Regions from separate parts of the Homo sapiens genome. Here regions 1 and 2 are each linked to region 3. The links are contacts of gene promoters, found by promoter capture Hi-C in blood cells and fetal thymus (Javierre and others, 2016). All regions are on one chromosome and are shown on one strand. Each heading gives the region's core, a stretch centred on a gene start or on the middle of the fragment in contact. The rest is flanking DNA. Distances are from core to core; before and after follow the strand shown.

Region 1 (3,405 bases), core at 406-2,905, 1.0 Mb after region 3:
AGGCAGAGTATAAAAAGAGGATTAAAACTGCTTTCTGTATCCTCAACTTTATCAAGGATAGCACAGAAATCTCCATCATTCATATTGCCTAGAGAGTTCTAAAGCATTAACAATTTATCTAGCTTATGTATAATAAAAGCTGTGAAGTATATATTTTTAATGCCAATCACCAAGTCCAACCATAATGCAAAAAGTTGTAAGGCAAGTTTAATTGGTACAATTCCTGCTGAATGAATAAAATACAACGTGCTTGTAGAAAAGCTGGTGTCCAATAAACTTGACAATAAAAATCTCATCCAAAGGGGTTAAAAAAGGTATCTGGAGAAACAGGCCTCTTTGCAAGTAAGGTACTATCTTTGATATGTAAATATTGTCTTTTTTTTGAATTTGTCAAGATGAACAACATAAGGCATTGGCTTTTGCTAGAAAAAAGTTGTTAACAGTTACTTTAGACACACACACACACACACACACACACATATATATGTATACGTATGTATAAAAGACATTACTTGCAATATTCCTGGAGTTATTTCACCCTTCATTATCAATTGTTCAGAAGAACTGCTTAAGAGCTTAGTACAAACAGGGTCACAGTGCAAGTCCTAGGCAAGCTGTCAAGAAGGAAAATTTGCTCTCCAATAACCTACAATTCCTTCTCACCATATCCTCTCTTTGTGCTCTCTTTCTAGCCCTCAGTGTAAATCTTGTCAGGAAGATGTGTGGGGGGATCTGTATGTCTTCATTTACTATGAAAATCCAAAGGTTTTTTACAGGAAAGAAGAAGCTATTTTTGACATCATCCATATAATAAGCTCATTAACAGAAAGCATCTCCTAAACCAAATTAATATTTGACAAATTGACTACATTTTCTTTAGGGATCATTATGCTCATTGCATAATGATTATAATTTATGTTTTATGTATTATCAATAAATTAATATTGCTGGAAATATTATTTTTAAGGAAGTGTCTCCCAAAAGCCTAGTTAAAACTAGTTTTCAATGCAAACACAAAAAATAATGTAAAAATTAGAAATATATTATCATTATTCATAAAATACAGAAAACATATCAGATGAATAAAATTAGGCAAGATGAAACTCTCTTTCTCTCTCTCTCTTCCCATCTTCCTCCATTCTTTTTGAAATTCTTAAAGTTGAAAAAAGGACAAGATGAAAAAGAAGACAGTCAAATAAACATAAAACTAGTCAAAAGCAAGTTGAATATTAGATAAAATGGCCATTAAGGGAACTGACCAGTAGTAGAAATGGTCTTAAGTGACTGGACTTTAGATACAGTGTAGATTCAAAGAGTGTGGGCCATGATCCCCTTGCAACATTATGTGGTATGCAGATGCCTGAGCCCTGCCATAGACTTCTGAATCAGAGTCTCTGGAAGATGGGACTTTATCCTCATTTTAAACAAGTCCCCTGGAAATTCTAATATACATCATTGTTTGGAAACCTCTACATGCTCCTACTCTAGAACCAACGGGTCTTGTGTGTTTGACCTCTAGACAGTAACTAGGGCTAATTAATCTTCTTTTCCTTGCATTGTAGAAGTGTAAAGATGTCATGTTGCTTTGCAAAGCACCAGACAACAGTTCACCTTTTCTCAAAATGTCACTGAAACTGTTCAAGAGCTAGGAAGGCACAACTTAGTGTTTGCAGAAGGCTTCTCAGTTTCATGAATTTGATCACATTGTGGCATTCCTTAAATCTACCAAGTGTAAAATATCAAAAAAAACCCCACAAAATATGTTGGCAAACAAAACTAAGTTGATTTACTTACTAGAGTAACAGAGAACATTACTTTATTGAGGCTTAGTATGCTTCAAGAAGGCAAATGTCAGGAGAGGATATTTATATAGAGTTTGGATAGAATCTGGGCTTAAGTGGGTCTTAGGGTGTGTGGTTTAAGATGGAGAACTGATTATGCCTAGGAAATATTTGTGTCATAATATTTTCATGTTGGTGGACTCAAGACGGGAGAGTCTTAACGTGAATCCTGATAAGTAAACTGAAGTTGGATAAGTGATTTGTTTGCCCAGGTGAGCAATCTACTGTCCTGATAGGAGACCAAATATTTGCCCAGACAAGTTGGTTTGCAGGAATTTTCCTAAAGCAAATAGTGAAGTTATTTATTGATTTATAACCTTATATTCTTGAGCAAGAATTTCCAGGAACAAATATTTGTCATGTTAATGCAGGTGGCTTCAGTTCTTACTGACAATTGCTGGGCTCTGTGGACAAAGGTGGTGTCATTTCTCAAACCAAAGGAGACTCAAAGAGCCTTTTCCTAGGATCTCTTTATTCTAAATTCTTGTTGAATTTCACTCAACAAATATTTGTTAAATATACAATGAAAGATGGAAAATTCCAGGCACAGATACTGCTACTGTCCTCTACCCACTGCCCATGACAGACATTAATAATCAATCACAACATTCCTGCCCACTGGACCCTAACTTGGCCTCATGATCTTTTTCAGATCAGTAGCATTGAAGGCAACAGTTTCAGTGGATGAGAGTAGTTACTCAAATGGCCATAGAAGGAAGTGGGGACTGTAAAGGTGAATCAGGCCCACATTTTGTTCTTAAAGAGTTTGGAGTTAAGAAATCAAAGGGAGTACCCTGGCAACATTGCCATGTGTTTAATTAGAACAAAGCTAACATGAATGTGAGTAGCTGAAAGTAAGTCCAGATAGAGAGCTGCTGGCAGTTGTAACTGGCCTTTGATGTGAGACCAAAGCATGTGACACTTATGTGATAGGGAATGGGGAATGACTGACTCATGAAAAACTGAGAATAAAAGAATTGCAACTGTGCTTCAAGAACATTAATAATTTGAAGTACATAAGAGATTCGATAAATGTAGAGAACATGTAGGAGGCCATTGCAGGAATTTAGAAAAAAATATCCTGTAGGAACAGATTAGGGCACATATCGATAGACTAGAAAGGAAGAGGGTGGGTGAGAGAAACTCATTACACATGTACAATTGACAAGTTTTGACCCCGGGAGTTAGTTGTAGGGAAGCAATCAGAGGAGAGGAAAGAAGAAATGACTTAAAAAATACATTTAAATTGTTCAGCAACAACTAAAAGAAACAATTTCAGCCAAAATTCAACACCTATGAGGAGAGAGATGTTTGAGAGGGATTTGACCATTATAAGGGATAGCTTTTATTACTGTCTTCTTAATTTCTCTTCTTTTGGGAAATTACCTCTCCATGTGACTTTTTTGGAGAATAAAACTTGAGACCCTGTCCCTCTTGACCACAGAGCAGGCCACATAGCCTGGCATCCTCCTGAGAATTTGATCCTTAAACTAAGATACTCAGGGATGAAATGTGATAAGAATCAAGGCTCCAGATCGCGGAGCCCTAGAGATTTTTGGGGGAT
Region 2 (3,090 bases), core at 33-2,532, 1.1 Mb after region 3:
TTTCTTTTCACAATTTTGGCTTCCAGCTATCTGGCAAATTTTCAAAAATTTGTTTTCTTTGCTTGTATATTGTATAATTTCTTCGTATCTTCTACCTCATAAATCCTCCTAAAATGTTCTTTCCTCTCCTTTTTGTTTTTGAGTTTTTAGGAACATCTTTGGCTGAGGTGGAATTTCTGACTATGTTATTGGGCACTACTTTGTGGTACCAAGTTTTAATCCACTTAACAGCTTCCAGCATATTTACTTTTTTTGGCAGGCAGGTGATGCTCTCAGCTATGTCCACACCAGCAGGCAAAATTGCAATAAGCAAGCAACTCTTGGAATGAATAAAAAAAATCCTTCACAAGGGGGAGGTCAACCTGTTTTTGATAAATTTCAGTTTGTTGTCACCCGAAGCTATGCACGTTAGCATAAGGCATTATCATATTTGCAGCCCAAATAGAATCCTGTATCTGACACCCTCTTTTTCTTTAGATGATTTGCTCGTTCTTATATGAAAGGCAGTAAAATGTAATAAAATGAGCACTGAACTTTATGGTAAGAGCCTGAATTCGAATTCTAGATTATCCACCACTGAACTTTATGATAAGAAGCCTGAATTCAAATTCCAGATTATCCACCCATTAACTGTGCCACTTTGGGGAAGTCACTCAACTTTATGGTAAGAAGCCTGAATTCAAATTCTAGGTTATCCACCCATTAACTGTGCCACTTTGTGGGGGTTACTCAACTTTTCTCAACCCCAGTTTTTTTATTAGTTATTTTAGAGAATAAGGTAAAATATTGTAAAGCATTTTGTAAGCTGCAGACTCCAGTATCTACTTTTCTTCTGAGCTCCATACATTTTCAATTGCCTGTTAAACATTGATGGCTAAATGTCCCATCCAAAATGCATTTCGATGTGCACTACTCAAGCTTTCATTTTCTTCCGAATTCTCTAATTCTATTAAATCATACTAATAATTTGCCAGTTACCCAGGTTGCAAATGTTTAAATATGGTTTTGTTGCCACTCTCTCATTTATCCCTTATAAGTTATTCTTTTATTTATTAATTTTTGCATCCAGAAAATGCCTATTAATCACCTGCTGCCTTTTCTGTTGCTGTACATCCTCCCTCTTTCAATCGCATCTCTGCATTTCAAAGCAGGCTCTGCTCCATTTTATCTCCCTGTTTCACACTCTGCTCCTCTGGCTTTGGCATCTATCTTATATCTCTCAGCCCAGACGTTGACCTGATTGTATCACTTCTTGCTTAGTCTGCTTTTCTGGCCCCAGTGCCTCTTGTCTCTGATAAGAAGCGCTCCTTTGTTCCTAGTCTGTGCCCTGTAGGACCCCCTCCTCCCCATCCCAATGGTCAGCTGGGCCTTCTGAGCCAATTTGTTAGCATCCCCATTTCCATGATGGCAGGAAAGGCTCAGATGCTACAAGTGACACTGAGGATGTTACCTAATTTTAATAAATATCATTTTCTCATTTTAAAAATGAGACGGATATACCTCACAGGGCTATCGTGAAATGAGAGAACACATGACTGGCACAGAGGAGGTACTCACAACCTAAGTGTTCTTCCCAAAGATCTAGCTATAGTTGCATAATACTAAACTCAGTACTCCACATCTGACCATTCAAAATAGAAGCTTAGAATCTAAGTAGGGAGATGAGAATAAAATGTTTAATAAATTTGTGTATAGAGATAGACTATGTAATGCAGTGCAGGTGGATGAGTACAAAGTACAAAAGTGAGTAGAAAAAAGTGACTCAAGAAAGACAGGCAGATATGATTTGTAAAGAAACTATTAGGTGTGAATTGGTGAAAATAAAGCAGGAGAATATTTTAGGCATGAGGAATTAGGAAAATTTTGAGAGCAAAACAAATTATGGCATTGTGGTATAAGTCTGGTAAAATGAAGAGGATGGGTTTGGGTTAAAGATCCTATTTGGAGAGGTAGAGTGGTGCTGATTATTGCAGACTTTCATTTTTGTCCTAGGAATAGAGAAATATATGTGAGCCAATGTTTTGAATATTATCAAAATTTTACAATAAAAGCAATGTGTTTTGTCACATTTTAAAGAGGCAATTAGAAATACAATGAATTTGTAAATCTGTTGATATTATATTAAACAAGTAGTCTCTAACCCCAGTTTCAAAATGCATTATTTTAAATGTGAAATAACATTTGTGAAGAAAAAAATTGACTGCATTTAGGCCATCATCCGTTCAATGGAGGTTTCCTGTGGTTTATTTATGAATATTAGTTGCTGTCCCTTTCTGTGTGAATTGGGCCAGAAAATCACAAATGCAAAAGTCTTTGGGATTGTCTAATTCAAGCACTGCACATTTTACAAGTGAGGAAACAGAAAGGGAAGTTAAATTCTTTCATGAGGTAATGTGTAGTCAGTGGCTAAATGAAACTCAAACTTTTCTTTAGATTTTTAATCTAATGCTTTAAAAATATATACTTAAGAACCTAAGATAGCCAAGATATTATTAAGGAAAAACAGCAGAGCTGTACCAGATAGGAGGACTTACTCTAAAGCTGTAGTAATTAAGAAAGTATAATATTTGCACAAAGACAAGTGGAATTATGGCTATTCCAAAAATATATCCACGCTAAAATAGTGCCTTGATATGATAAGTGTGTCATGAATTTCTATAGGAATCAGTGGTCTTCTTAAAAAATTGTGCTGGGTTAATTGGATATATCAATGAAAAACAAAAAAGAACCTCAACTCCTACCTCACATCAAACACAGAACTGAATTTGAGATGGATCACAGACCTAAAGTGTAAAAGCTAAATCAATAAAACTTCTAGAATAAAGCATGGAGAATATCTTCACGACTTCGAAATGAGTAAAGATTTCTTAATAAGACACAAAAAATGCAAAAAAAAAAAAAAAAGATTAACAAATTGGATTACATTGAAGTTGAGAACTTCTGTTTATAAAGTGATAAAATTAAGAGGATGAGAAGTTAGCCACAGGCTGGGAAAAGATTTTTGTAACATGTATTTATTTGTCAAATTACTTATCAACAGAATAAGGAACTCATACAAAAAAAAAAAGCAGATAACTTAATTAGAGATGT
Region 3 (3,363 bases), core at 619-3,118:
TGCTCTTTCCTAAGCCTTAAGTCTTTAAAAATTGAACTTGAAGGTATTCAAAATAGAATAGGGAGGATTAGGAAGGAAACTCTTTTAAATTCTCATTATTAAATCTTGAATTATTTCACTGTAAATAAAGTGCAGTGTGCAATATCCTTCTAACTTTACCAATAATATCAACTAACATACAAGTCTCAAAAACAACTTTCCCAACGTGCCTAAAATAACAATGCACTATCCTTGCTTTCCAAACTTGAGTATCTTCGATTACTTTAAAGCAGTATCATAAAATTCTAAAAATAATCTCAAAGCAAAAATTTAGCAGGCTGTATGTAGACAGCCCATTTTAGAACAGGTCTTATTCTAAAGTCAAGCACAGGTAGAATATTGCAATCTACACCAAATCTACAACAGGGTGGGGCATTCATTACTCACCCAGATAAACCAAACATAACTCTGGTGGTTGATCACAGTAAACCCTAACTGTCCCCGTAATACCAACACAACTAAGGCACGGTTTACTCTTTTGCCCAAAATGCTTTTCACGCAAATTAAAAATTAAAAAAAGAAGTTAAATCATGGCCAACTACTCTTCAGAACATGGTGCAAGCCATGATAGTGCACTTAAGATTCTGAAAGCAAAATCTAAAATAGCAGAATGATCTCTATTCACTTTAAAGATATAAAGTTTCACAAACAGTTTTTTAATTGTTTTCTTTAGTGAGTGACCATTTGAATGTGTGACTGATGCAAGAGTAAAGGGTGAACGAAAGAACAAGGTCAAACTTAGGGGACAAAAGATTCCTGGAATAACATGGCCAGAAAGGTTTCCTCTCTTAGGGACAGTTTCTATATTGAAAAAAAAAAAAAAAAAAAAAAAAACAGAAAAGAAGAAGAAGAAAGGGAAACCTTAAAAGGAAAAGAAACCAAGCAAACCACCTACTTCTAGAGTCCACCTGGTCAACACGCCTGCCCCGCGAGGCAGGTAATTCGATTTTGGTGGAGACCGTTTTGCAAAATAGCAGGCCTGGTACACTACTACCTTTGAAAGACAAAATCGGTTCAGAAAGGATGACAACTAGCTATTCTTTCTCATTTAAGGGGAGAGAATAAAGTTTCATTAAGATGCCACACAGAGCACTGTAGGAATGTGAGGGTCGCTCTCAATACCTGGCACCGTCTGCTACGGGAAAACAATCGGCAGAAGGAAGTGGATTGAAGCCCGCAAACTACACTCTGCTTCCCACACGCAGCTGGGCTCTGGGCGCGACGCCCCCGAGGCGATGGGCAGGGGCCGGGGGTGACCGGGGAGGAAGCCCGGGAAGGCGGCGGCGGCGAGGCCGGGGCGCCCGGCCGCAGCGGGAGAGGACAGCCCGTCGGAAGGAGAAGTGGGGCCCGCCGGCTGGCGGACTCGCCTCACCTTCTGCGCCGCGCTCTGCTGCAGCACGTTCTGCTCCACGGTCATGGCCCCCGCGGCGGCGGCGGCGGCGGCGGCGGTGGCGCCCGGCTCCTCGCGCCTCCGCCGGCCCTGGCTGCCGCGCTCCGCCGAGCTCCAGGGAGCGGCGCGGACGGCCTGGGAGGACAGCGCCCCCGCCAGCCAGGCGCGAAGGCGATGGCGGCCGGCGTGCGCGGGCACCGCGGGCAGGCGGCGAAACGCCGACTGTGAGGGCCACGGCGGCCGCCTCACGTCTCCACGCGGCCCGCCTCAGCGCCGCTCGTCCGCGGCGGCCCGGGCCATGAGCGGGCGGAGGACGCCGGGGCACGGGAGAGCGCGAGCCAGTCGGGCGGCGTCACGCGTTCGCACGTTCCTTTGCTGCCGGTCCGCGGGCTGCTTTGGGGAAGGGAGAGAGGGGACGGAGGGAGCGGCCGCCCGGAATGGCGTTGTCCTCCTCCCTCCGCGAGTCCTCCTCCCTCCCCTCCCCCACGCGCCATCCCCGCCCCCGCCCGGCGGCTCCTCCCCCGCAGAGCCCCGCCCGCCGGCCGCCCTAACCCTACATTGTGACCCTCCGGGCGGCGGGGCGGGGCCGCCATGGAGCCCCGCCCCTCCCTGCGCGGGCCTGGCGTTCCCGGGTGGGGCGAGGGCGCGCCTGGCTGCCTGGCCCGGGAGCCGCCCCTGCGGCAGGTTGCGCGACGCTGGCGCTGGGCTTCGGGGAGCGCGACTGGAGGCCGGAGGGCAGCGTTCCTCCCTGCGCCCAGGGCTTGTCGGATCCCTAGCTTACCCAAAGCCTCCAAAGCAAACATTTCCCTCCATGCCCATAACGTCCCAAAACTGCGTAGGGTCCCGAACTCCGGCCCCTTTCTGTGTCACGCGTTCTCTCCCCTCGCCTTTCTAGGAATTTCACAAGCCTTGAACTTGCCTGAAGGGAAAAGTCAAATAAGCAAAGGGTTGCCAGAAATCTTTATGCTGGGAAGTACTTTTCTCCTTAACTAATCATTACGTAAATGAATATAGACATTTTCTATCTACCTTCATTCATTCGAATATGTGTCAGTCACTGCTAGGCTCTGGAAAAATAAAGTTTATCTTCCCAAGACTTAATATAAATGAAATAGGATCTATCTAGCAAACAACCTTACAAAAATATCACTGCCTAATGATACATAATTCTAATATCCCAGTTGCCAAATTAAGCAAACAATTAACTACCATGCATGGAATGCTTGACTATATATGGAATTGTAAGGAAAATCTAACATTAAGAAAGCAATCTCTAGCCACAAAAATATCTCGAGTTCCAGGAGCTAATCTGGGAACGGAGGTGAGAGTGCAGCAGTGTGAGGAGAGAAATTATCAATGCATATTGTCACAAATAGAATACACTTGAAAATCCGGGTATAATTTTTAATCCAATGACAAGGAAAGCAAGCTTGGCAAATGCTAATTGAAATAGTATGTGGTGTTATTTAATAATCATGGATTATAGTAGCTCTTAAGGCTTTGTAACAGTTCTGTGCACTTTACAACCATCTTTGTTCTGCAGCTCAGATGTCTGGTACCACCTGTTGTCACCTTTTCCTTGAAGCTTCATATTTGTTGACTCATTTGATATTTAACAAATTGCAAATCTTATTATATTAATATCCTATGTCTTTTCTAGAGGAAATGAAAAGTCATGAAACGGTTGGAAACAGAAATTTAGAAATACTGTCACATCTCTAATCTCACGTATCGATTTTTTTATAACTCTGAAGCCCAAGGAGGGTGACCTGTCAAAGAGAGCTTATCAAAACCCATTTTTCTTCATTTATAGATCAAAGTTTCTTCTTTTCTTGTTTATATGCTAACTTCATGTTTCTCCATATGAGGGTTTTGGTTTTTTGGTTTGTTTGTTTGTTTTTTAGAAATCAAGCTCATACATTTGAATTCAAGAA

What was found. The method cuts DNA at HindIII sites, captures the fragments that hold promoters and counts their contacts. A CHiCAGO score of 5 or more calls a contact.
Region 1: a fragment that was not itself captured here is called in contact with the fragment with the promoter of USP25 in region 3 in 1 of 17 cell types (neutrophils); the score reaches 6.2 in neutrophils.
Region 2: a fragment that was not itself captured here is called in contact with the fragment with the promoter of USP25 in region 3 in 4 of 17 cell types (non-activated CD4 T cells, naive CD8 T cells, total CD8 T cells and 1 more); the score reaches 11.1 in non-activated CD4 T cells.

Annotation. Positions count from the first base shown.
Region 1 is chr21:14,698,942-14,702,346 of GRCh38, reverse strand. No RefSeq gene overlaps it. Among named protein-coding and RNA genes, the nearest start is that of SAMSN1-AS1, 120 kb to the right of the region's middle. The HindIII fragment of the contact is 4,970 bases long and covers 1-3,405 here.
Region 2 is chr21:14,671,965-14,675,054 of GRCh38, reverse strand. No RefSeq gene overlaps it. Among named protein-coding and RNA genes, the nearest start is that of SAMSN1-AS1, 91 kb to the right of the region's middle. The HindIII fragment of the contact is 723 bases long and covers 921-1,643 here.
Region 3 is chr21:15,728,487-15,731,849 of GRCh38, reverse strand. USP25 (ubiquitin specific peptidase 25) reads right to left here and starts at 1,868. Exons shown (of 26, transcript NM_001283041.3): 1 at 1,412-1,868. The coding sequence starts at 1,456. RefSeq lists a silencer at 1,304-2,263. The HindIII fragment of the contact is 4,884 bases long and covers 1-2,860 here.